Regions from separate parts of the Homo sapiens genome. Here region 2 is linked to region 1. Evidence: promoter capture Hi-C in 16 types of primary human blood cells and fetal thymus (Javierre and others, 2016). All regions are on one chromosome and are shown on one strand. Each heading gives the region's core, a stretch centred on a gene start or on the middle of the fragment in contact. The rest is flanking DNA. Distances are from core to core; before and after follow the strand shown. Region 1 holds the start of NRIP3 (nuclear receptor interacting protein 3). Region 2 holds the start of ADM (adrenomedullin).

Evidence for each region. Contacts are between HindIII fragments. The CHiCAGO score rates a contact against its expected background, and 5 or more counts as called.
Region 2: a contact is called between the fragment with the promoter of ADM here and the fragment with the promoter of NRIP3 in region 1, in 2 of 17 cell types (fetal thymus and non-activated CD4 T cells). The highest score is 7.7, in fetal thymus.

Annotation. Positions count from the first base shown.
Region 1 is chr11:9,000,945-9,006,512 of GRCh38, reverse strand. NRIP3 (nuclear receptor interacting protein 3) reads left to right here and starts at 2,512. Exons shown (of 7, transcript NM_020645.3): 1 at 2,512-2,751. The coding sequence starts at 2,578. It overlaps NRIP3-DT (NRIP3 divergent transcript), which reads right to left and starts at 2,425. Exons shown (of 3, transcript NR_183663.1): 1 at 1,970-2,425. RefSeq lists an enhancer at 2,416-3,335. The HindIII fragment of the contact is 8,665 bases long and covers 1-3,799 here.
Region 2 is chr11:10,303,783-10,309,634 of GRCh38, reverse strand. ADM (adrenomedullin) reads right to left here and starts at 4,562. Exons shown (of 4, transcript NM_001124.3): 1 at 4,406-4,562; 2 at 3,837-3,955; 3 at 3,537-3,686; 4 at 2,238-3,303. The coding sequence starts at 3,934. The coding sequence ends at 2,994. CAND1.11 (a long non-coding RNA gene) reads right to left here and starts at 1,322. Exons shown (of 4, transcript NR_103765.1): 1 at 962-1,322. It also overlaps a transcript of SBF2 not described here. RefSeq lists an enhancer at 1,452-1,721 and silencers at 3,971-4,020, 4,041-4,090, 4,771-4,820, 5,001-5,100, 5,591-5,650 and 2 more. The HindIII fragment of the contact is 5,037 bases long and covers 1,032-5,852 here.

The DNA.
Region 1 (5,568 bases), core at 1,263-3,762:
CTTCCTGGTGTTCCCAGGGGGATCTAGCTCTGAAAAGAGCCCCTTTCTTCTGTCAGGACATCCTCAGCAAAAAAGGCTGCAGGTCTGAGCTGAGCAGCCTGGAGAGTGGGGATTCCAACTCCCCCCGAGAGTGTCTACCTGCCTGGCTTCCTCCCTGAGGAAAGTCACTGTCCCAGCCCAAGCCCTAGGGGCCCTCACTGTTGGACCTGCCCTGATGCTTTGCCAAACTCAGAGGCACCTCTCCTAGACGGACAAGGCAAAGCTGACTTTCACTGTTCCCTGGGTGATCTGCACCTGGAGGAGTGATCAGGCAGGGATCCAGGTGATGGGACAGAAGGGGCCAGGGCAGCCACTGTTGTTCACTGCTGGAAGTGTGCCAGGGGACTGGAAGGTGAACAGCAATCCCACCTGTCTCCTAGAGACTCTGTCCTCCGTGTGTAGGGGAAAGTAGGGGATGGGCACACAGGGAGGAATCCAGCCCTGGGGCTTCCTTGAAGCCAAGTGAGCAGCCTTCTGTATTTGTTTTCCCACAAACAGTCTTTGAAACTGGGGCAAGTGTTGAAGGCAGAACAGAGTAAAAGAAGCAGCTTCATGAGGCCAAACCCAGTCTCTCCAGGTCTAGGTAGTCCAGCACAGGTTCTGGGAGTAAATGCCAGCTTTACCACTTGATTTCTTTGGTACGACCTTAACTTTTTGCCATCCTTTCACTAGTATTTGAGAACCCTCTGCATATTAGGGCATCAATGCTAAGCAAAAAATGGGTTCAGTCACCTTCCTGGAGGTTCCAATCAGTGGAGGAGACAAATATTAATCCAACAACCAGTACCCCCCTACCCCTACCCCCACAGAAAGTGTCAAATGCCCAAGAGATAGATAGTATATAATTAGAGAGACTTCACTCTCTCTGGAAGGTCAGAGAAGGCTTTCCTAAAGAAATGATAATGGAGCTGAGGTCTGGAAGAAGCATAGGAGTTTCCTGAAGAGGGTAGGAGGGGGCACTGCACACAGAGGGAACAGGACAGTCAAAGGCAGGCCATTTGGCAACAGGTGACTGGAAGGAACTGGAAGAAGGCCCATGAGGCTGAAGTACAGAGTGAATATGCAGGGTCTAGGCAGACCATGCAAGAATGTGGGTTTCTCCTAAGAGCAATAGGAAGCCTTTTGAGGTGCTCTTAGCAGGGAAGTGAGATGATCACACTTATCGTTTGAGAAGATTACTCTGGCAGCACAGTGAACAACGTATTGGAATGGAACCAAGGAGCATTCAGGAGGCCAGACAGAAGGTATCAGGTATTTGCCTGTAAAATGGGGGTGATGAGAATACTATCTTACAAGCTGTTGCCAGGATCCAATGAGATACTGCATTTTAAGTGTCTAGTCTAGTACCTGGCACATAGTAAAGGCTCAGTAAGCGTCGATATTGTTACTTTTATCATTGGTTCTTTGCAGAGTGCACATATTTCTTATCCAGGTCTGCTCCTGCGTGATGGGGTGGAGGGAGTAGTTGTGGTTTCCAGAGTGAAAACGTGATTTGTGTCAAATCACAATGTCGAGACCAGAATCCAGGATGCCTGAAGGCCCGATTAGAATGGCTTAAAAGTATGGATTATTCAGGAAGAAAAACGGGTTCCAATCGCTCCTACTAAGGACGCTGGAGGGATGGTGAACGATCCTTTAGATGGTAAGCCCTAGCACTTATTGAGAAAAACAGGTGCTTCTTTGGTCGGAGAGCAGGTGTAGGGCTCGCAGCCGCGTGCGCTCCCGCGGAGGCGGGGGACCCTCGCCACTCCCCCGCCCCACGCCCACCCGCGGGCTTCCGACTGCACCTGCTCCCCCGGCTCGGAAACGCGGGCCGGGTGCCGGGCTGCAGGCAGAGGGTGCCCGGGGGAGGAGGTCCCGAAAGCCTCCTCCACACGCCTGCACCGGCTGCCCCCTCCCCAGTCACGTGGCCCGGTGGGTGGGGACCGACCTGAAGTTGGAGAAATCCGGAGCGCTCCCAACCTCGGAGGGAGTCGCCAGTCCTCCGGGCCCGGGCGGTGGACCCTGGAGCCCCGGCTGGCGGCGTGGAGGTGCGTTTCTGAGAAGCCGAGCAGCGGCGCGGGCGGCGGGACTCGAGGCATGGCCCGGCTGTCGGTGATCCCCGGGTCGGCCACGGCGTGGACAGGTGAGCAGGTACCCGCGGCCAGCGGCAGAGATGGCCGGGGCTGCCAGGGCATCGGGCCCCAGAGCCCACGCCAGTCCAGGGGATGCGGGGCCCCCACGCAGGAGGGGGCGGTTGGGTGAAAAGGCCGCGGTGGATTCTCGGACTGCCGGGTCAGTCCCCACCAGCGCCGCCGCCTCCTCGCCGGCTTTGCCACCGGGTGAGCAGGGGACGCGGGACGCGGGACGCGGGACGCGAGGGAGCCGCGCGGGGCGTGGACTCTGTGCCGGCCCCGCCCCCCGCGCGCGCACTGGCTGCTCCCCGCGACGTCACGCTCGGCTATAAAAGGCGCGGCTCGGGGCCCTTGCGGCGCTGGAGGAGCTCGAGGCTGAGGCTGCCGGGGGGCTGTGGGCTACCGGGCCGCCGGCGCCTCAGCGATGTTTTACTCAGGGCTCCTCACTGAGGGCGGCCGCAAGGAGACCGACATGCGGGAGGCGGCGTCACTGCGACAGCAGCGCCGGATGAAGCAGGCGGTGCAGTTCATCCACAAGGACTCCGCCGACCTGCTGCCCCTGGACGGCCTCAAGAAGCTGGGCTCGTCCAAGGACATGGTGAGCCCCCGCCGCCGTTCTCGCCCCGGCCCCGGCGGCTTCGCGCCCGCCGTTTTCCGAGGCCCGGCCGTTGCGGCTTTCACTGAGTCACGGCCCGGCCCGCCGCTGCCCTTGGCTCGCGGTCGCTGCGTCGCGGATTCCTCCCCTTCCAGTACCCCTGCTGCGGTTTCGGTGGGGATTCCGTCGTAGCTTTTCTAGCTTGCGCTCCCCTCGGCTGTGCCTCCTCCCTGGATGTCTCTTCTCCAGTAGAAAGAAGAGGTCCTGCCCTGCCCTCTTGCCCTCGGGTCTTCTTTCTTTTTCCTTATTCTTAATACCGAATTTTGTTCACGGGGCTTGTGCCTCCTATGCTGTGTGGCTGTTCCTATGACCCAGACAGAGGTGATTCCTAATGGCTTTCCGTGAGGGGGAAAGAAGTGGAAAGAGGGTTTTTTGACAGTTGCCAGATCCAGAGGACTTCTGTTGAATCCATTGTCCCCCTATGCAAAACCCACTTCTCTAGTTTTGGTCCTAACTTTGACCTTCCATCCTGAGTGGGGAGAGAGAAAAGGGGCCAAATGTGAAGGTTTCCTGAACCCCCAACATCTCTTCATCATTCTCCTCTTCCAGCCCCGCCCCCAAGGAGTGGGTAGAGGGAGGAAGCCAGGCTGCTGCATCTCACCGACCAGCTAATGTGTGCATCTGGAGCTGGGGTGGGTGCAGTCTTTTTTTCTAGCACAGTTGTTCCTGGCATTAAGTAGAAGCACCTCAGGACAGGGGGCCTGGGGTCAAAGATGGTACTGTCCTCTTTCTATAGAATGGGATGGATGGCTAAGGGTTACCAATATAAAGAACTGTATTTGTCATCCCTCAGCCACTGTAGTGGTCCTGGGCCAAGTTTATGTTTAACTTTGTAGTTTTATCTGGAGTTTTCTTGTAGTTTGATTGTTTTCTTGAATTTCACAATCGCTTTATTCATTTGGGTGGTAATATGTGAAACACTAATTAAATGTCTTTTAACAAATGAAATAGGTGCTCTGCATAATTTTTCTAGTATTTTTTATTTTAAGCTTTTGAAATATTTAATTTTGGATGTGGTTGTCGGCCCTAGTTCACTGAAATTGCCATTTCTGGCCCCAGGAGGGCAGAGCTTCTGCATCCATTTCCTTTTTTTTTTTTTTTTTTTTTTAATTTAACAGCTCTAATGATACACAGGTACATTATATTATACACAGTATAATATAATATACAAAAATTTTTCTCCTCCCTGCCATTAGTTACTTCTGTGCAGAGTTTGTCTACTTCAGTTATCTTGCTCTGTTTTTTTTACAAGTTGTGTTTTTTTGTTTTGTTTTGCTTTTTGCACAACCCACAGGATAGTTTATCTGATTTATGCTAACCCAGAGTGATAAGTGATTGAAATGTGCTCCTGCAAAAGAGATAACTCTCTTTTCCCTTCTTTCACTTTAAAGCAATCTCGATTCATTTAACAAATCAGGTTCGAGAAGTATTCTTTCCTTCAGGCCAAATAATCCTATCCTAGTTCCTAGAATGCTCAGCAATCAATAAAGAAGGAAGTATTATATTAAGAGAAGAATTAAAATACAGAGTTTTTAAATGCTGGATTTGGTTGTCCCTCGTTGTCGAGGAGTTTCCTAGCCCTGAGAGCTACCTGAACTTCCTTCTGCCTAGGATTTCTTATACTACTTCATGCTGTGTAAGAATTCCATCCGCTTTTCTGACTCTAGTCTGTCTCAGTTGAGTCACAAAGGGCTGATAGCATACAGCACAGGCAGCAGGCTGCAAAGAGGAAGGAGCCTCAAGAAGCAGGATATTGCCTTGAGTATGACACATACACATGACAGTTGACTGTAAGGCTCTGAATCATGGTTCACGCTTTCTGTGCCCCACCGTCATGGAGTTGATTTCCCTCTCTCACTGTTTTCACACCTATAATGTACAAGTGATTGCACAGAACAGCCAGGTTACAGAAACCAAGGCAGACCGAGGTAGGGCTAGGAGAGCCGCAAGCGCTGGGGTGAGGCAGCATGCTTAAACTCTCTTGGAACTGTTGTTGCAGCCTTAGTACAATCTTAGAAGTGACCTTAGAAGTACATTATTATTCTTTTACTTTATAAATACATGTGGGATAGACCAGTGTTGACTCAATTTTCTCTCACTGCAAGGGAAATTTGGAGGATGTTAAAATTAATTGAATAGTTCTTACTTGGAGTAGTTTATAGTATAATCTCGATAGAAGGAGTCCAAGAAAAGGGAGAGGATAGCATCAGAGGGAGATAAGGAAGAGAGAGGAGAAATTAGTTGTTATTGACTTTTGGGTTTGTGAAGATTGTAGGTTGTTTTTCCTCATACCAGCAACCTATATTTGAATATACCGCTGGGATTTCTGAATTATCTACCTCTTACTATGCTGTTTCTGTAATGTTCACTGCTTGATACCAGCCTGCCAGCTCTTTTAGGACTGGCAGAAGGCAACCATAGGAAATCAAAGGGGGTCATGTTCTCTTGGCCCCAGGAAAGTGCCTTTGCCTATTCCTGTGTATCTGGAGTTGGCTGATACAAAGTCTTCTGTGGAAATTATATTTTTGTCTGCCCCTTTTGCTTTTATCCTTTTATCTTGTATTGTTCATTCTGTATTAGATTAAGAACTAAAACCAGAGATATGAGTGAGTAATATTATATTTGATTTTTTTTTTAAGAGACGGGTTCTCACTCTATTGCCCAGGCTGGAATGCAGCTGCAGTCACATCTTACTGCAGCCTCGACCTCGCAGGCTCAAGAGATCCTCCCACCTCAACCTCCTGAGTAGCTAGGATTACA
Region 2 (5,852 bases), core at 3,313-5,812, 1.3 Mb before region 1:
CTGATAAGCTTCAGCACCTCAAAGAGAAGAGCCCGGGGTTTGATGGTGACCTTTGGTTAATCCTGAACTCATACCAAACTGGTCTTAGGAGGGTCTCTGTCTCCTCGCACATGTCTCCAGTCACAGGATTCTCAGCGGGAAGGACTCCAGCTGAGCAGCTGCCTCTTTTGTCTTAGGGCTGAACCATCTCCTTCACTTGCCTTGGATTCCCTCAAGTCATAAGACTTCCTCAGCACAAGGCTAGACGCCTGTTCCCTGCTCACAACCGCCCGAAGCTTGTGCCCAACCTGCCTTTGGCAGCTTTGTTTGCTGGCTGACGCTGTGCCAAGGTGAGGTTTGGCTGGAGTGCTTTGTGGCTACAGGACAACCTTGGCTCAAGGAAAGGAGTAATCTTGCGCCACTGTCTGCGAGGCTTAAGTGTTTGCTGCTCTCTGCAGTTTCTGTAGCCCCTTCAGACCACCCAGAACCCACTCACTGGCACAGAAATTCCATGACAGGAATCTTGAGTCACTCTTTCATTCATACATGCCTGGTACCTTCTCAGTGCCTGGCACAGAGTTCCCACAAAGTGAATCTTTTTCTGAAAGGCCCTTGAGGACAAGAATGGTCTGTAGCTGCATTTCTAACCTCCTCAATTCTGGCACACCTCACACAATTATTAAGATCAAACAGGACAATAAACTATATGAGATTGGCATTGTCAACAGCCAGGTGCCCAAACTGAGGTTTTGTATGGTCTTAAGGAAATTCTATGTACTCGAGTTTACTTTCTTCTAAATTGAAACTGCTTTGGAATGAGGTATCTCTGGACCCCAGAGTAGGGCCCCTCTCTCTCAGTGGGTATGCAGTCCTCTTCTGCAAGAAACTAAACATCCTAGCCCCTCGGAGGGGACCCTGTAATGTGCAAAAGCCCCAGAAGGCCGTAGGCTACCCTGGAAACATTTCCATTCTCCAAACTCACCTTCAGGTTTTCTTCACCAGGGAGGTTTCTGAGATCACCTACAAGCACTGACATTAAGGCCAGGGAAGCTTTTTGGAAGGGACAAGTAGCTGGTCTCCATCTTGGGTCTTCAGGATATTGGATGAGACAAACAGGGCACCCTGAAATCAAAATCAGGGGTCCCTCTCTTTACTCTTCCCTTATGTCCTAACTGTTCCTATGTCCCCTGCCTTTCTAGTCACTCAAGGGGGGCTTAGTGTCCGTCTATCGCCGGAACTGGGGTCAACCTTCTCAGAAGATAAGGCATATAAAGAAAGCAAGGAGGAAGGAAGGAGAGAGAGAGAGGAAGGCTGGAGAAAAGTGAAGAAAAAAATGAAAAAAGGCTTGGGAAGGAGGAAGGAAGAGGTGAGCGGCTAGGGGAGGCGGAACAATGAAGGTCTCAGGCCGTCGGAGGCTCACGGTTCCGCCGGCACGTCCGTCCTGCCCGCCTCCAGCCGGCAGCTGCACGCAGCGCAGCGTGTGGGCGCTGAGTCACTGTCCCAGAACAGGGAGCCGCGGTGCAGGTCTGGGGGGTGTAGGAGGACGGCCCTGGTTGGCATCTGCAAACTGTTTCTTTCTCTCTTTTTTTTTTTCTTTCTTTCCTCTTTCATTAAGGCTGTGTGCTGACTCCCACGTAGGAGAACTTATTAAACCGCACGTACTGCTTGGCGGCGCTGGGCCTGTCTCAGCTGCCTGCAGGGGGCGCTACAGCCTCGCCCATGAGCCAGCGGCCCGCGGGCGCTCAGGCCCGGGCAGACCCGGGGTTACTAGGGGTTACTGGGTTTTCCGGAGGTGTCCCCACGCATTGCTAGGGCGGCTTGGAACTTTAACAACCGCGGCAGGCAGGGGGAACGCCTCTCTTAGAAGGCCTCAGAGACCACCCCAACTCTTCGAAGCTCGCTTTCGCGCCGGGTTCTGTGAGCAACCCTATAAATCTAGGACTCCGTTGCGCAACCCGAGAGTCCAGGCTCGCCAACCCACTAGGGCTCCCCCTACCCACCCCCCGCCGGCCGCCACGCCAGGCGGTGACCTCGGGCGTCTCCGCGAAGCCCTGATTCGCACCCAGGACACGTGTTCTGCGCGCCCCACACAGAGAACAGAGCTCGTGACAGCTCAGCCCGCTCAGAGTAGGGCCAGCACCTGCACGCGCCGCTGTCCCACCTTCCCAAGCCCGGCGGCGGGACCCCAAGGCTCCTGGGCGGGCCGGGACCAGGGCACCCTCCCTTCCTAGACGTGAGAGCCGAGCCGAGAGAATGAATCAGCATTGAGACAGTTTATTGGTTTGCTGTTCGCATATCACCCATTTTATGTAAATAGATTATACAGAGACTCGGTGTTTCCTTCTTCCACACAGGAGGTAATCAGTCTTTCTCTTTCATGCACACAAACACACTCACATTCCACGCGGCGAACAACTTTACACCTCGCTGAGACATTCACGTCTTAAAATAGGGGAGGACAATATAATTGCTTTTAAAATGCCCTTAATACAATATATAACGTACAAAAATATCTCTATATTTGAAGTTACAAAAAAAATCTTGACAGCAACAAACTTAAATATTGATAGTTACCTCTGTATGTACAACACGCATTGCACTTTTCCTCTTTAGGTTTTGGAAAGTTCAAGTAATAGTGAGGCTTGCGCCCTGGTGGGGTGACACGCCGTGAGAAATCAGTTTGTGGGCGAGCACGGCTGTGGCTCAGACCCCTGCTCCGGGGGTCTCAGCATTCATTTCTCAGTTTCTCCTCTCCTTAAGCCTGGCAAACACTCGGATTCTTCTGCACCCCGCCCCCTGGGGCACTTGCACCTGAGCAAGGCTAAGGAAGCGAAGCCCCCAGAAGGAGGGGCCCTTGCAAAGCCAGAGCTCGCCGCCGGACGGTGCCTCCCGGACTCAGGGTCTCCGCAGGGCTGTCAGAGCCCGGTCCCCACACCGCTCGGGAAGTCCTTCGTCCCGGGAGGCACCAGCGGGATGCTTGCGCGACTATTCCTTGTACCATGGGCGCCTAAATCCTAAAGAAAGTGGGGAGCACTTCCACTCGGGGGGGCTGGAGCCCCGTGTGCTTGTGGCTTAGAAGACACCAGAGTCCGACCCGGGCCGGCCTCGGGCAGGGAGCGCCGGCGCCGGCGGCCGTAGCCCTGGGGGCTGATCTTGCTCCTGGGGGCGACGTTGTCCTTGTCCTTATCTGTGAACTGGTAGATCTGGTGTGCCAGCTTCTGCACCGTGCACGTCCCGAAGCGGCAGCCAAAGCTCCGGAGGCCCTGGAAGTTGTTCATGCTCTGGCGGTAGCGCTTGACTCGGATGCGGGCGGCATCCGGACTGCTGCGGGCGGGGGGAGGGGGAAGAAAGGCAACTTGAGACCCCATCAAGCAGAGCTTTGGCCCCAACACCGGGAACGGGAGCCATTCTAGAGCCAGAGGGAGCTGGAAACTGCTCGCGCCATCTGAGCTGCGGTCCAGCCCCGACGATCCCCCGGGCCAGGGGAGTGGAGACAGAGAACTCCTCCCGCACACCTTCCTTCCCTCCCGTCCCTGGACAGCACAGGGCGTAGTTACCTGTCTTCGGGGCTTCGAGAGGCACCCTTCATGTCCTGGGGCCGAATAAGGGTCTGGGCAGGCCCGGCCTTCACGTCAGCGAGCCCGGTGGGGTAGCTGCTGGACATCCGCAGTTCCCTCTTCCCACGACTCAGAGCCCACTTATTCCACCTGGAAAACACAAGCAGACCCGATTCGCGTGCGTTCAGGTGACGCCCAGGCCTGTCCCTGCTCCCATTCACTTCTAGACCTTCGGGACCAACGGTCAGTTCCCCTTGCCTGCCAGGTACCAGCAAGGGGGAAGGCGCTGCCCGGACTCACTTCTTTCGAAACTCCGACGCGACATCCAACCGAGCGGTGTCAGCGCCTAGGAAGGCGAGCGAACCCAGGTACATCAGGGCGACGGAAACCAGCTTCATCCCGGCTGCGAAGCGCAGACCCTGGAAAAGAAGAAAGAGAGTCGAGCGTGAGCACCCGGGCCAGCTGCACCGCCCGGGCGGGGCACGGAGGGCGGGCAGGGGCCCCGGCGAGGCGGGTTTAGCCCGCGCTTTCCCTGGCTCAGACGCTTATCTCCCTCCGCGCAGAGAGGCGCCAGAGGCGTTTGCACGCGCCGGCCGGGTGACAGGCCCCGCAGGGGAGGCCGCTGCACCCCGCCAGGCTCCCAGAGGGTCTCTGCTCAACTTCTTGGAACTTGGCTGACGGAGCAGAGGGGACTGGGTCTCTGGACCTCCAGCTGTGTGCACGAGCTGGGCCCAGGATATGGGGTGTATCTATCTCTCAGAGAACCCTCCAAAGTGGGTTGTTCCCCTCACCCAGCGCTCCCAGTTTAGGGCCTTGGCAAGCACTGCCCCCCACCCCACCTCTTAACCCGCAGGGTCTGCGGCACCTACCTGCTAAGAGAGTGATCTGCCAAGTACTTGAAGGAGAAAGTCTCAGACGTCCCACTGGCAATGGCAAAACTCCGAAGTCCAAGCCCAGCTGCAGTGAGAAGCCCGAAGTGGCAAGGCTTGAGCTGTTCTATCCAGTGTCACCAAGAAACCACTGAGTGGCCAGCTCTGGTTCCTGTGCTTTATAAGCGCACGGGTGGGGGAGCGGCGGGGCGGGGCCTGGGCTGCCCGGTTGCCTTCCCTTTCTTTCCTCAGCCACGCGCGCTCCTGCTCTCGGACGCGCGCATTGCTTCCTTTGGGGCTGGAGTTGGGATGGGGGGAGGGGGGAGCGGGGGAGAGGAGGTCCCTCGTGCCCAGAGGGCTTAGGTATGGGCTCCAGGCGGTTGGTGCAGGAACTGCCACAGCCCTCTTTGGGCACAGGGTTCAGACAGTACGCCGGAGCGAAGGGGCGCCACTACAACCTCTTGAGGTCCTTATCCAGGACCCATGCGGCCCGGAGTGCAAAGCCTCCTGGCGAAGAACAGCAAGAGCCCGCGGAAGGGACAGCGCGGATGGCCCGAGCCCTGGACCTGGGGAGCTGTGGCCTCAAGTGGACCGCGCCCCCCTGCCGGCTTGGCGCCTGACCGGGCCGCGACCCCAGACTCCCGCGGAGGGGCCGGGGCAGGGACGGAGCAAAGCCGAGAGGAGCAGGACTCACTAGTCCCCCAGAGGACCAAGACCCCGGCGTTTCGGGGTGAGCTAGTAAGATTTCACGGTAGGGACAAGGCTCAGAAAAGCTAAATTGAGAATTGGGATTTGGAGGGGGGAATTATCTGAAATTTCAGAATTTTCATTTCTATTTGGAAACATAGGAATAACCAAAATTAGGAGGAAATATACTGTTTCATTTTGCCTCCTTGTAATCCTATTATGCCTTATAAGGTCATAACCTGAGATTGTGCCTGGCTGCCTTCATTAATCCATCGTAAACGTGAGGACTGACTGCCAGGGAGCACACTAACGCTTCACGTATGCTAATCATTTTACAGTTTACCAAGCACGGCCACATCCCAGTCTACTTTGAGCTTCACAGCCACCCTTGAGTCAGGCAAGGAAGGTAACATTCCTTTTCCCATTTCAGCAGGTAGAAAATTCAAGCTCAGAGAGGGGAGGTATCTGCAGAGAGGGGAAGTCACCCTGCAGGTAGGAAGCAGCAGAGTCCCTACTCGGCCCGACACGCTAGCACGGCCGACTGGGGCGCGGCGTGGATTCCTCTAGGCTGGGGTCACCAACTTCTCAAGGGGCAAAGGAGAGTCCTAGCCCCCGCCCAAAGAATTTGTGCCTGTTCATGATGAATCACGCTAGACACGTTTGTCACCCGTTTGTGCTCTTTCATCACAGCTTCTTCTCTTTCTTACTTCTCTCCTGGGGGCCAAACTGGGAAGGAAAGGCTAAGCCACGGGGCTTCCTG